Regions from separate parts of the Homo sapiens genome. Here regions 1 and 2 are each linked to region 3. Evidence: promoter capture Hi-C in human tissues and cell types (Jung and others, 2019). All regions are on one chromosome and are shown on one strand. Each heading gives the region's core, a stretch centred on a gene start or on the middle of the fragment in contact. The rest is flanking DNA. Distances are from core to core; before and after follow the strand shown.

Region 1 (2,700 bases), core at 89-2,588, 230 kb after region 3:
GATGCTCCAGCATACTGCAGGAGAAGGAACTTGACTGGGTCACCTCCTGGTTAAAACCCTTCAAGAATTCACCTTCATTCACCAAAGCACCCTGAGCTCCTTGCCTTGGCACTGGAAGTCTTTGCACAGGCTGGTGAACTGACACCCTCACCCGTGAGGACCCAGCCCGTCTGGGTGCCATCACCTGGGTCTCCACCTCCACCGGGAAATTCTGACCTACTAAGTTGACCTAGCTCCTGACCTAACTCAAGAGCCACCTTGGCAGTAAAGCCACCCTGACCCTGTGACAGTCCCTCTGCCAAGCCCCCAGCGCCTGACACTTCCACCCAATGCTCACTCAGCAGCTCATCCTGCATGAATGCAGAGTGGCCTGGAGGGAAGTGACTGCACACAGGATATACAGACTCTCCCACCACAAATAAACAAGCGATTCTGTCAACAAAAGAGCCAGAAGAAAACTGCACTCCTATTGGAAAGGGATGAGGAGCGCAGAGGCTGCAAGGAGGGTACCAAGTCAGAGCTGGGAAGGCCCAAGGCAGGGTGGAAGGTGGAGCTCAGAGAGGGTTCCAGGGTCCCTGGGTATAGGCACGGTCCTCCTTATAGGTCACCACCTAAGGGGGCAGCAGTCCTTAAGGGTGCCAGGTTGACATAGGTGGGGTCACAAACCTCAGAAACTGAAGAACTTGCAATCCAACCCTATCATTGGGTAGATGGAAAAATTAAGGCCCAGAAAAGGGCAGACAGTTGATCTACTCATCCTTCCACCTATGCATCCCTACTCGCATCTACCCATGCATCCCTTCACCCATGCATCCACCTATCCATCTACCCATGTAGCTACCGCGCCATTCACTCATGCATGCATCCACTGATCCATCCACCCATGCATTCATCCACCCATGCATCCATCCACCCATGCATCCATCCATCATCTACATAGGGCAGGGGTGGGACTAGAGCCCAGAGCCTCTGCCTCTAAACCCAAAGGTCTTCACAACGGGTCACAGTTGACTTCTTTACACTCACGGCAGCTCTGGGAAACTTTCTGACCCCTTAATGGGTATACAGGAAGAAAGACCCTGCTAGTGGAATGGGGGAAGGGTAACAGGGCTCATGACAAGGCACGGTCTATGCAGGATGCCTGCCCTAAGGCCAATCCTCATCAACAGCTCTGTGAGGGCAGCCAACCCTAAGCCCACTCTGCAGATGAGGAAACAGGAAACAAGCTCTGGAGAGGTCTGCTGACGTGCCTACAATCCAAGGATGGTTAACCACTACAGCCATAACCCTGTCCCAGATCTCTCCACTGTCCAAGAGTAGGCCCTCTCACTGCACTATGGCACGTCAGGCATGGCTTGGGCAGGGTGGATAGGAGGCGTCCCAGTGGGCAAGAAGCTTCTCAGACCAAAGGCTTCTGAGCCAGGGTCAATGTGGTGGATGGTGGGAGTCATTGGTCATCACAAGATGATGCGTCTCACAGGAAATGGGAAAGAACTTGTACACTGGGGAGTCAGAAAAAGGGGGAAGCCTGGGGCTTTCAGGCCCTGACAAAGCTCCTGCATCCAAGGGAGCTTCTGAAGGTTGTAGGAGAAGGTGGCTGCTAGCAGGGTCCCCAAGAACAGCTGCCGACAGAGTTTGGACAAAGTTATGCCATCTCCCTATGTGCCAGTGGCTTCAGAGAGTTCTGGAGGAAAGACCCAAGAGCCGGAGCAGCTATGAGGGCTGGCTGCTGGGAAGAGATGGAGTTGGGTGCGGAGGAAGGCACAGGTGTTCTAACAAAGGGACTCTGAGAAGCAGGAACTACGGTGTAGAGGTAGGCGGTAAGTTCCTAGGGAGGCCCTGCAGCAACTGAGGGGCCCCTGCTCCTCCTCCTCCTTCTCCCTGCCAAGTAGAGCAGCCTGGCTTGCATCTGTCTGCTCCCCTCCGGTGCACCTGGGACCCTGATGCTTGCTGCTTCCCATTTCAACAAATCCAGGGAGACAGGTTCCTGAGTCCCCAGACTCCCTCCCAGACAGGCAGCCAGGTGGAAGGGAAAGTTTGGGGTCCAGCGCCTGCACTTCTCATCTCTCCGTCCTTAGATCTGATACTTGCAACTGAGCCTTGGTTTACTCATCTGTAAAGGGAGGTGGTAATACGTCCAGTGAGGGGGTAGAACACTATGCCTGGCAACCAAGATGTGTTCTGTCACCCACAGGAATACTAAAAATATCTAACCCCTGGGCACTGCTGCTGGCTGTGGGGCTGGGGGAATCCTGGAGGTGCCTGTGGACAGCATTGCCCACTTAGCTCCAGAAATCCCAGGGAAGGGACAATAAGGGGGACGGGGCAGGGGCAGAGGCTATTTACCAGCAAAAAAAAGTACAGCACTCTTGCTCTTGGGGCTAGATGTATCTAGGATTTCAGAATATCCTGAACTTTAGACAGGTAAAGCTGCATATCTCAGCAGCATCCAATAAACAAATACATTGAACTCTCTGCAGTGAAAGACATGAATATAGAATACATAAAGACTATAAATAGCCTCACTTGGACTATAAATAGCCTCACCTCAGTTCAGGAAAAATTTTGCTGCCAAATGAGTTACAAAAAAGTGTCTGGTTTTCAGTGTGCTGGATTTTGGAATTGAGGATAAGGAATTGTGGATCTGCACATCAATGTTTTCACCACATATCTGTGTGAACCAACTGCATATCACCCCTG
Region 2 (2,700 bases), core at 111-2,610, 210 kb before region 3:
TGAAGATGCATGCGATGAATACCAACAATATCACTGAGCTAGTGAACTATTTGGCAAATGACTTAAGGTAAGTTAATTAAAAAAAAAAAAACTTACTGTGGAATTTCCTTAAAATCTATCTTTATAAGCTGGGCACGATGGCTCACGACTGTAATCCTAGCACTTTGGGAAGCTGAGGTGGGTGGATCACCTGAGGTTGAGAGTTCAAAACCAGCCTGACCAACATGGAGAAACCCTGTCTCTACTAAAAATACAAAATTAGCCGGGCATGGTGGCACATACCTGTAATCCCAGCTACTAGGGAGGATAAGGCAGGAGAATCTCTTCAACCCGGGAGGCAGAGGTTGCAGTGAGCCGAGATCGCACCATTGCACTCCAGCCTGGGCAACAGGAGCGAAACTCTGTCTCAAAAAAAAAAAAATCTATCTTTATGTTGGAGCAGAATGTCAACTGTAGAGCTATTTGGTTGTAATTAAAAGCTCAAAATATTACATCTCTCATTACTGCACATATCCAAAAGTTAATCATTTAATAACCCAATTTCTTGGAATATGACCTTAGAATCTGACAATTAAACAGGTCATCTGAACCCCCAAATCAAGTGTCTCACAGCCCTGTTCTAAATCCTACATTACAATTTTATGTCTAGACACTTGCTCAGAACATTAATGACTTTATGTAGCATCACTTTTGTTAAACCTGGTTATCTAATTTTCCAGCACCCACAAGTTTAGAAACAATAAGCTTCTTGGGATAGAGCTGGGGGTGGATATGGAAACTGAACGGGAGAAGGAAGAAGTGGGCTGACACTAAAGAAAGGGAAGTTCAAGACCGCAGTACACACCAGATCCATCCCTGCATGTGGTCTAGCCATGTTGGCGCTTGAGAGGTCTTTCTTTCTCATTACCACTCCATGGATTTCCATCTGCTTGTTTATCTCTTGTGATCCAGCCATAATTAGATATTGTCATTTTTGAGCAAGTATTTTTTGAGTTATAATTGATACATATAATAAGCTGGACATACTTGAAGTCTGCAATTTAGTAAATTTTGACATATGTATACCTATAAAGCCATCACCACAATCAAGAGAGTGAACATAATTCTCTGAAAGTTTCCTCATGCCCTCTGTGAAGTTGATTACATGAATTAGGTCATTCTTGTGATACCCAAATTCATCAGAGTCGAGGGGCCCAGGGGAAAAGCACTCAGAGTACAAAACATTGCTCCAAAAACATAATTCTGGCCGGGCGCAGTGGCTTACTCCTGTAATCCCAGCACTTTGGGAGGCCGAGGCGGGTGGATCACCTGAGGTTAGGAGTTCAAGACCAGCCTGGCCAACATGATGAAACCCTGTCTCTACTAAAAATACAAAAAGTTAGCCGAGCATGGTGGCGCATGCCTGTAATCCCAGCTACTCGGGAGGCTAAGGCAGGAGAATCGCTTGAACCCAGGAGGTGGAGGTTGCAGTGAGCCGAGATCGCACCATTGCACTCCAGCCTGTGCAACAAGAGTGAAACTCTGTCTCACAAAAAAGAAAAAAAAGAACAATGTGTAACATGTCTCTTTTTCATAAAACCTCTAACCTTCTCTTTGTTCTTTGGACAATCCAGAGACTACCCAGTCTATGTATATGCCCCAAATTGGAATTATTTCTTCCCAAATAAAACATTAAATTCAGAGATTGGTCTTTACATTTTAATTTTGACTTCAATGCCTCTTTTTCTTTTCTTTTCTTTTCTTTTTGAAATAGGGTCTTGCTTTGTCACCCAGGCTGGAGTGCAGTGGTACAAACGTGGCTCACTGCTGCCCCAACCTCCTGGGTTCAAGCGATCCTCCTACCTCAGTCTCCAGAGTAGCTGGGACTACAAGTGTGCAACACCACACCTGGCTAATTTTATATTTTTTGTAGAGACAGGGCTTTGCCATGTTGCCCAGGCTAGTCTCAAACTCCTGGACCCAAGCCATCTGTACATCTTGGCCTCCCTGAGTGCCGGGATTGTAGGCACAAGGCACTGTGCTTGGCCTAACACTTCTTTTTCTTTTTGATTTTGTAGTTTAGATGAAGCTTCAGTCTTGATAACTGAATATTCAAAGCACTGCGGGAAACCTGTGCCTCCAGACACTGCTCCCTGTGAAATTCTGAAGGTAAAGCTGATGGAAAGTTCTTAGGTTCTAACTTGACATTGTTTATATTCCTAGGGCCTTAAAATTGACAAGCCTTTTCTAGTGTTCTGGAGATAAATGTATTTTTATGTGTAACTGTAATTTTTATATTTTACTTTTTGTGTTAGAGAGTTCTAAACTAGAAATCAAGAGACCACAGTTCTAATCTCAGCCCTGCCACTGGGCAGCAAAGCCTAATGTGGGCTTAGTCTTCAGATCTGGACCCCATGGTCTCTCAGGTGCTTTCCAGCATTACCATTCCTCATAAGGTGGTGTTTTTAATATTGAAGCAGGTGAAAAACTGAATTCTAAAAGGTGTTGATTATTGTCATGCTTGGGTATTAATTGCTTTTTAAATTAATTATTATTCTTTAATTACCTAAAACGTATATTCACTGCAGAAAAAAAAGAAGTATGGCTGGGCACGGTGGCTCACACCTGTAATCCCAGCACTTTGGGAGGCCAAGGGGCAGATTACCTGAGGCCAGGAGTTCAAGACCAGCCTGGCCAACATGGTGAAACCCCGTCTCTACT
Region 3 (2,700 bases), core at 132-2,631:
CAGGCGTGGTGGCACATGCCTGTAATTCCAGCTATTTGGGAGGCTGAGGCAGGAGAATTGCTTGAACCCAGGAGGCGGAGGTTGCGGTGAGGTGAGATTGTGCCATTGCACTCCAGCCTAGGCAACAAGAGTGAAGCTCGGTTAAAAAAAAAGAAAAGAAAGAAAGAGAAGAAAAGAAAAGAAAGAAAGAAAGAGAAAGAAAGAAGAGAGAGAAAGAGAGAAAAGAAAGAAAAGAAGGAGGAAGGAAAGGAAAGGGAAAGGGAAAGGAAAGGAAAGGAAAGGAAAGGAAAGGGTCTCTGACCTCAGACAGGTTACAGTCTCACTAGGGAGACAAGGGTCAGGATTACGTGGGCGTCATTTTCCTCCTTACAGGCAGGCGGTGCCTCTCCCTTCAAAAGCAAGGGACCTTTATGCATGATTCCACATCTGCATTCCGATAGGAAAGGGAAACAGCAGAAACACAATACCCATCTGAGAGCTACGCTTAGAGAGGACTCTGGGCTTTTATTTATTTTTTTACTTCAGTCTTGTGACCAGTAATTTTAAGGGAAAGCCAATAATAATGTTTTTAAAAAGCCTCACGCCACCCCTGGCGGCATCTCCTCGGTGTACTTTGCTGTTCAGATCCGCCTGCCTTCTGTGCCAGCCTAACAGCGCCCGGCCTCAGCCCCCATTGTCCCTGGAGCTGGCGAGGTGTCCGGTTGCGGAGCCGGCGGCGTCTCTGGAAATGCATCCTGCATCCCCGCATGGATAACAGCTGCAGCTATGTCAGAATTGCACAAAGAGGGGAGAGTGTCATTGTGTGCCTTTTGACACATACATTAAGACCAAAAAGGAAAAAAAGCGTCTATCTGTGCTGCCACCGACCAGACTCATGGAGGCCAGATTTTCTCCAATTAACCAGATCTTGCCCTGGTGCAGACAAGACTTAGTGAGTTCGGAGGAGGGGTGGGGAGAGGGAATTGGCTGGGGTCCCTACCCTGGGTGGAAGGAGGAGGGAGGGGTTCCCCCTCCCCCTTCCCCTACCCTCCCCTCCGGGTTTAGGGAGGGGATTAGAGGTGGGGAGGAGCTGGGGGGGCGTTTGGCCTGTGCCCCAACCTTGTGAGTGAGGTGGGGGTTGGAGGTGTGCGGGGGGCGGGGCGTGTGCCGGGGTCGCCGCGGGATGGGGGGTTGGGGATGTGCGGGGAGAGGCGCGTGTCCCGAGATCGCGGGGGGTGGGGTTGGAGGTGTGCGGGTGGAGGGGCGCGCCCTGGAGTTGGGGGCGGGCGAGGCGTTTGCGGGCGCGGGGGGCGGGTTTGGAGGTGTGCGGGGGAGGGGCGTGCCCTGGAGTTGGGGGCGGGGCGAGGCGGGCTCCTCCCCGGCGGGCGGGCCCGGGCGCGGCGCGGTGGCCTCGCGGTGCCTAGGCTGGGGCTGCCGGACCGTGAGGCTGTGAGTCGCGCGGACGGAGCCGGACAAAAGCGGGCGGCGGCGGCAGGATGAACAGCATCAAGAACGTGCCGGCGCGGGTGCTGAGCCGCAGGCCGGGCCACAGCCTGGAGGCCGAGCGCGAGCAGTTCGACAAGACCCAGGCGAGCGGGCGGCGGGCGGCGGGCGGCGGGCGGCGGCGGGCGGGCGGGCAAGCGGCGTCCCTGACCCCTCACGCGCGAACGGCTGGGGCCCGGGAGGCGCCGGCCAGGGGCGGGGGACGGCGCGGGGGCAGGGCCTGTGTCCGCCCGGGCTCTCCGAGAGCTCCGCTGCCGCCCCCCGCCGGCCTCCGCGGCCCGAGCCGACCGGCGCGCAGGTGAACCGGAAGCCGCGCTCCCCGCTCCCGCCGGGCGCTCGGGCCCAGAGGCGCCGGGGCTGAGGGGGCCGGGGTCAGGGTGTGCGCGGGCCGGGAGCGCCGGAGCTGAGGCGGCGGGGGACGGAGATGGGGCCGGGGTTGGGTGTGCGCGAGCCCAGCGCGCCGGGGGTCGAGGGGGCTGGGGATCCAGGTGCTCCCGGGGCCGGCGCGGCCCGACTGGGGTCCCCGACCTTCCGTGCCGCTCCTTGCCGGCTCCTGCCCCCGTCTCCTACCCCCTGAAACCGATGCCCCCACGGGCAATTTCCTTAAAGGAAATTCCTTAAACTCCCAGCTTCCTTCTCTCGTGAGCGGTTTCCCAGGGCTGCACAGTCTCCTATTATTTGCTGGGTGAAAAGCTTCTCGTATGTCGCCAGACTTGTTTGCCCGAGCGCTGCCCACGTATAAATAGGTGCACACCCCCTCATTAAATACCGGCGCCCGACAGACAGAAACTTCCTGGGGCTCCCTTCCTGCGCCTCCCACGCTTGTAACTCTTCCAGATGATGCCTATCCTGGGAAGGCGTTAGAAATGAAATAAGGGCGCGGGTGTGCGTTTTGTACTTGTGTTTGTGCCGGGGACCCACGATGCAGACGTTGCTGCGTTTCTGGTTTCCTGTTGCTTTTTATTTTACAAACTCTTGAAGTGCTCTCAGGCTTGGGGGATGGGCGGTGGAGGGGGGCATACTTGTTTATTTGCCAAAATAAGTCAACCAAGACTGAAATGGCTGAAAAATTTTACTCTAGAGATAAAGGAAGCCAGAGGACCCCTCCCACTCCTGTCTAAAGCAGGTTGGTGACATTTGCGTTTGTGGCGGCTATTTGCAAGTTCCGTCCCACTTGTCCTTGCAGAGAGCTATGACTTCTGCGGTTGCCTTCACATC

What was found. Contacts are between HindIII fragments. The study calls those that stand out against the background at their distance.
Region 1: a fragment that was not itself captured here is called in contact with the fragment with the promoter of HIP1R in region 3 in 3 of the 25 tissues and cell types used here (H1 embryonic stem cells, dorsolateral prefrontal cortex and liver).
Region 2: a fragment that was not itself captured here is called in contact with the fragment with the promoter of HIP1R in region 3 in 2 of the 25 tissues and cell types used here (IMR-90 fibroblasts and lymphoblastoid cells).

What each region holds. Positions count from the first base shown.
Region 1 is chr12:123,060,175-123,062,874 of GRCh38, forward strand. The region is part of intron 2 of PITPNM2 (phosphatidylinositol transfer protein membrane associated 2); the gene reads right to left. Among named protein-coding and RNA genes, the nearest start is that of PITPNM2-AS1, 20 kb to the right of the region's middle. The HindIII fragment of the contact is 7,256 bases long and covers 1-2,700 here.
Region 2 is chr12:122,622,541-122,625,240 of GRCh38, forward strand. It overlaps KNTC1 (kinetochore associated 1), which reads left to right. Exons shown (of 64, transcript NM_014708.6): 62 at 1-67; 63 at 2,058-2,148. Among named protein-coding and RNA genes, the nearest start is that of MIR9902-1, 72 kb to the right of the region's middle. The HindIII fragment of the contact is 3,781 bases long and covers 1-2,700 here.
Region 3 is chr12:122,834,076-122,836,775 of GRCh38, forward strand. It overlaps HIP1R (huntingtin interacting protein 1 related), which reads left to right and starts at 1,382. Exons shown (of 32, transcript NM_003959.3): 1 at 1,382-1,568. The coding sequence starts at 1,476. It overlaps LOC124903040 (a long non-coding RNA gene), which reads right to left and starts at 1,158. Exons shown (of 2, transcript XR_007063501.1): 1 at 1,099-1,158; 2 at 480-763. RefSeq lists an enhancer at 984-1,033 and silencers at 1,284-1,523, 1,694-1,893. The HindIII fragment of the contact is 9,768 bases long and covers 1-2,700 here.